Regions from separate parts of the Homo sapiens genome. Here region 1 is linked to region 2. The links are contacts of gene promoters, found by promoter capture Hi-C in blood cells and fetal thymus (Javierre and others, 2016). All regions are on one chromosome and are shown on one strand. The core of a region is centred on a gene start or on the middle of the fragment in contact, and the rest is flanking DNA. Distances in the headings are between cores, read along the strand shown. Region 1 has its middle 26 kb from the start of GRM2. Region 2 holds the start of IQCF6 (IQ motif containing F6).

What was found. The method cuts DNA at HindIII sites, captures the fragments that hold promoters and counts their contacts. A CHiCAGO score of 5 or more calls a contact.
Region 1: a fragment that was not itself captured here is called in contact with the fragment with the promoter of IQCF6 in region 2 in 1 of 17 cell types (M2 macrophages); the score reaches 5.3 in M2 macrophages.

The regions. Positions count from the first base shown.
Region 1 is chr3:51,731,363-51,734,062 of GRCh38, forward strand. No RefSeq gene overlaps it. Among named protein-coding and RNA genes, the nearest start is that of GRM2, 26 kb to the left of the region's middle. The HindIII fragment of the contact is 4,672 bases long and covers 1-2,700 here.
Region 2 is chr3:51,777,856-51,780,555 of GRCh38, forward strand. It overlaps IQCF6 (IQ motif containing F6), which reads right to left and starts at 1,382. Exons shown (of 2, transcript NM_001368369.1): 1 at 1,298-1,382; 2 at 708-1,136. The coding sequence starts at 1,369. The coding sequence ends at 768. All of the region lies in intron 2 of LOC105377087 (a long non-coding RNA gene), which reads left to right. The HindIII fragment of the contact is 3,019 bases long and covers 1-1,737 here.

The DNA.
Region 1 (2,700 bases), core at 197-2,696, 46 kb before region 2:
TCTTCATCCCTGTTTATAAATTTTAATTTTAATTTTTTAAAAATAGAGATGAGGACTCTCCGTGTTGCCCAGGTTGGTCTCAAACTCCTGACCTCAAGCAGTCCTCCTGCCTTAGCAACCCAAAGTGCCGTGATTACAGGTATGAGCCATTATGCCTGGCCTCTTCATCTTTTTTCAATTTATGTATGTCTTTATATTTAAAGTGGGTTTCTTGTAGACAACATACAGTTATGTCTTGTGTGATTCACTTTAACCACCTCTGTCTTTTAGTTGGTGTATTTAATCCATTGAAATTTATTGATATAGATAACTATTAGGTTGGTGCAAAGGTGATTGCAGTTTTTGCCATTGAAAGTGATATCTGTCAGATTCATCATTGCTTTCTATTTGTTGTCCTTTTTCTTTGTTTCTGTCTTCCACTCTTTTTCTGCCTTTTGTTGTTTAACTGATCACCTTATATGATTCCATTTCTCCCTTTCCATATCAGTAAGACTTAGCATATCAGTAATACTTCTATTTTTTTAGTAATTGCCCTAGAGTTTGCAAAATACATTTACAACTAGTCCAAGTTCACTTTTAAGTAAAACTATGCCACTTCATGGGTAATGCAAGTATCTTATAATAAAGTATTCTTAATTCCTCCCTCCTATCCCTTGTATTATTGCTGTCATTCTTTCACTTCTACATAAGCTGTAATCACTAAATACATTGTAGCTATTGCTATTATTTTGAATAAACTGTTATCTGTTAGATCAATTAGAAATTAATTTTTAAAGTTCTTATTTTACCTTCACTTAATTATTTCTAATGTTTTTCTTTTCTTTCTGTAATCTGAATTTCTGATTATATCATTTTTCTTCTCTCTGAAGAATTTATATTTATTTATTTATTTTTGAGACAGAATCTTGCTCTGTCACCAGGCTGGAGTGCAGTGGCGTGATCTCGGCTCACTGCAACCTCTGCCTCCTGGGTTCAAGTGATTCTCCCGCCTCAGCCTCCCGAGTAGCTGGGATTACAGGCGTGCGCCACCATGCCCAGCTAATTTTTTGTATTTTAGTAGAGACGGGGTTTCACCATGTTGGCCAGGATGGTCTCGATCTCCTGACCTTGTGATCCACCCGCCTCCGCCTCCCAAAGTGCTGGGATTACAGGCGTGAGCCACCATGCCTGGCCTCTCTCTGAAGAATTTCTTTTAACATTTCTTGCAAGTCAGGCCTACTGGCAAAAAATTCCCTCAATTTTTGTTTGTCTGAGAAAGTTGTTATTTCTCCTTCACTTTTGAAGAATAACCTCAAAAGGTACAGAATTCTGAGTCAATGACTTTTTTCTCTCAACTCTTTAAATATTTCACACCATTCCTTTCTTGCTTGCATGGTTTCTGAGAAGTTAGATGTAATGCTTATCTTTGCTCTTCTATAGGTAAGGTGTTTTTCCCTCTGGCTTTTTTCAAGATTTTCTCCAATTTTCTGTAGTTTCTTTCTTTCTTTCTTTCTTTCTCTTTTTTTTGGCTCGGAGTTTTGCTCTTGTTGCCTAGGCTGAAGTGCAACAGTGCAATCTCTTGGCTCACTGCAACCTCTGCCTCCCAGATTCAAGTGATTCTCCTGCCTCAGCCTCCTGAGTAGCTGGGATTACAGGCGCCCACCACCATGCCCGGCTAATTTTTGTATTTTTAGTAGAGATAGGGCTTCACCATGTTGGCCAGGCTGGTCTCGAACTCCGAACTTCAGGTGATCCACCTGCCTTGGCCTCTCAAAGTGTGGGATTACAGGCATGAGCCATCATGCCAGGCCTGCAGTTTCAATATGATATGCCTAGTTATAGTTTTTGTTTGTTTTGTTTTGTTTGTTTTTGTTTTCTTGGCATTTATCATGCTGGGTGCTCTCTGAGAGTCCTGGATCCATCGTCAGTGTCTGAAACTAAATTGGGAAAATACTCGGTCATTATTGCTTCAAATATTACTTCTGTCTTGTTCTCCTTTTCTTCTCCCTCTGGTATTCCCATTATGTATATGTTTCTTACACTTTTTGTAGTTGTTTTGCAGTTCTTGGATATTCTGTCCCATTTAAAAACCTCATTGCTTTTCATTTTAGAAGTTTCTATTGATATATACTCAGGCTCAGAGATTCTTTCCTCAGCCATGTCCAGGTTACTAATGAGCGCATCAAAGTCACTCTTAATTGTGTTACAGTGTTTTGGGTCTCTAACATTTTCTTTTTATTCTTTTTTAGAATTTTCATCTCTCTGCTTACATTATCCATCTGTTCTTATATGTTATCTACAATTTCTATTAGAGCCCTTAGCATATTAATTACAATATTTTAAATTCCTGGTCTGATAACTTAAATTTTTTTTTAAATTTTATTTTAAGGTCCAGGATACATGTGCAGGAAGTACAGGTTTGTTACATAGGTTTAAACATGTGCCATGGTGGTTTGCTGCAACCTATCAACCCATCACCTAGGTAATTAAGCCCCACATGCATTAGCTATTTTTCCTGATGCTCTGCCTCCCGCTGCGCCCCTCAAGAGGCCCCAGTGTGTGTTGTTTCCCTCCATGTGTCCATGTGTTCTCATTGTTCAGCTCCCACTTATAAGTTAGAACATGTGGTGTTTGGTTTTCTGTTCCTGTGTTAGTTTGCTGAGGATAAAGGCTTCCATCTCTAACCATGTCCCTGCAAAGGACATGATCTCATTCCTTTTG
Region 2 (2,700 bases), core at 132-2,631:
CTGCCTATCCCTAGTCCTCTGTTTGTTTACCTGCCCCCATGCCACCCCCACAACCATCCCCCCACAGCCCCCAAGTCTCTCTCCCCTCCCTGATCCCATGCCTGGTTCTCCAAGGAAGTGCCCAGCAGAGGGGAGGGAAGCCTTGTTGTTCAGCCCCAGGGTGGGCAGGCGGCAGGCACAGCTGCTGCCCTCAGCTCCTGCTCTGGCTTCCCCAGGGGCTGGCTCTGGCTGGCTGCTCCCTGACTCCCTTCCCCACCATAAGGCACAGCGTCTGTCCTGCTGTTGCCCAGCTGAAGTGCCATGTCCTCCTGGCTCCCTGCCAAGCACTCTGCCGGCCCTGAGGGCCTTGCCAAGCACAGGCCTGTGGAATCCTGGCCTTCCCAGCTGGCCCTGGCTGCAGCCAGATTCTCTGATCTTCTGATCTGAATGGAGATGCCTGGACAGGGGCTGCAGGAAACTAAAGCCCAATGCCTACTCCCACTGTGGAAGGGGCCAAAATCAGGCTGACTGAGGCATCATTGCTTGACCTGGGCCCTGGGGTCTCTCTTGGATGCAAGACTGTCCCGGTATGCTGTTAGGAACAGGGGCCTAGGTTGGTGACCTGAGGACAGGGGCTCTAGACCACACCAGGGAATCTTTCTGGGGGGAAGGCAGAAAACTTAGAGGCTGAACCCTCCTCCATGAGTCTAATCTCCAAAGGGCAAGTGTATGGTCAGTAAGGGTCTTTATTGGAAGAGAGATCCAGCCTCCTTGGCTCTGTCAGCGCCCTAGGTCATGAGGATTTCGATGTCAAGCTCCAGCCGGCTGGCTCTGACCTCATAGTGGCCCCGGATCAGGCCTCGGGTTTGGCTGGCATGCCAGCGCCAGTGAGACTGGATGATGCAGGCCGCTTGGCGTGCCTGGAGGAACCGCCTGCGGGCCTGCCACATTCGAACCTGTGCCTGCACCTTCACCACCGCCCACTCCTGGCAGGTATAGAGTCTTAGTGCCAGGCGCCGTCTTTGCTCCAACATCTTGGCCTGCATTGACCTCCACCAGCACTGGATGACCCAGGCTCTGAGTGCTGCCTGCAGTAACGTCCGGCGCACCATGTTTCCACGCCACCATGACTGAATCTTTATGGCTGTCTTCTCTAACTGATTGGGGGAAAGGAAAAACAGGGAGATGCTCAATGGGGGACCCTCCCCTCCTGTTCCTATCCCCATCTCTGATCTTGGGAGGAAAGAAGGCCTGGCCCAGGTGCCCCTGACTTCTTGTTTCTAGGGCCCATCCATCTTGTTTCCAATCCCCCACTCACATTTAGACACGGTTCATTACCTGTCAGGTAAGTCCCTACTGCAAGGGCCTTACTCACATTTTGCGTGTCCATGGCCTTGATCCTTAGGGTCCACTTATCTGTCACTTAGGCCACCCTTGTCTTTAGCCCCACCCTCAACTGTTAGTCACACCTCCATCATTGGACTCCGCCCACTTGCACACAAGACTCTACCTCATCAGGTCCCGTCTGCACGCATTTTAACCACATTTCTCTCTCCTCTTCTCTTGCTTTCATCTCTTTTGCTTTATTGATTCCCACCACTTTGGGAGCCTACCATTATCTCTTGCCTTCAGTTTATTTCTCAGCCCCAGTGGCATTCCTGATCCTCCTGATGGCAGTGAAGAGAGAGTCATGCAGCTTACCTACAAGGAAGGAGTTTTACTTTAAGCCTCTACTCATAGCCAATTTGGATTTCCTGAAGCTTAAGTGTCAGGGCGCCTGTCAGGGCCCGAGGAACGTGTTTACAGAGCTGTATATTTTTGGGTAAAATTTGTGAAAGCAAGATATTTCAGCTGCAATTGGAGAGGACCTCTGTCTCTCTTCCCTCTTACTCCCTCTGTCACTCACCTCCTGTTGAGTGGGGTGGAATGGCAACCTCTTTTGCCACGAGACTAAGGGAAGGCTGAGTTGGGATAGACTCAGTTTTTTTTTTTCTTTTTTTTTTTGAGACAGAGTCTCGCTCTGTCGCCCAGGCTGGAGTGTAGTGGCACAATCTCGGCTCACTGCAAGCTCCGCCTCCCAGGTTCAGGCCATTCTCCTGCCTCAGCCTCCTGAGTAGCTGGGACTACAGGTGCCCGCCACCACGCCCGGCTAATTTTTTGTCTTTTTAGTAGAGACGGGGTTTCACTGTGTTAGCCAGGATGGTCTCGATCTCCTGACCTCGTGATCCGCCCTCCTCTGCCTCCCAAAGTGCTGGGATTACAGGCGTGAGCCACCGCGCCCGGCCTAGACTCAGTTTAACAGCATAGATTTGTGTGGTTCACAGTCACCCTTGGGAACACATAAATCCTTGCTAGCCATTCTGCTGTTGCTGTGTTCATTCACCTTGCTCATGGCGTGAAGATGCAGGAACAGAAGGGCTGCTATCCAATAAGAACGTGTCTTCCAGTGCTGGCACCAAAAGTATTTGGGCAGGGGAGGAAAAGTAAATGTGAAAAGTATGGAACCAGAAGCCAGTCTGTAGAAAATTCTTCCTGTTATTAGATGTGTAAAACTATAAGTGGAAGATTCAAGTCTCATTGATGCCTGATTAAAATTGAAGCTCTCTCTTTTCAGGAATATACTTGACAATGCAATGATACAATTTTAAACATTTCCATACTTTTTTCTTTTCTTGGTGGGAATTTTGTGAAATAGAATTTATCTGAATTCCTGTGATTGTA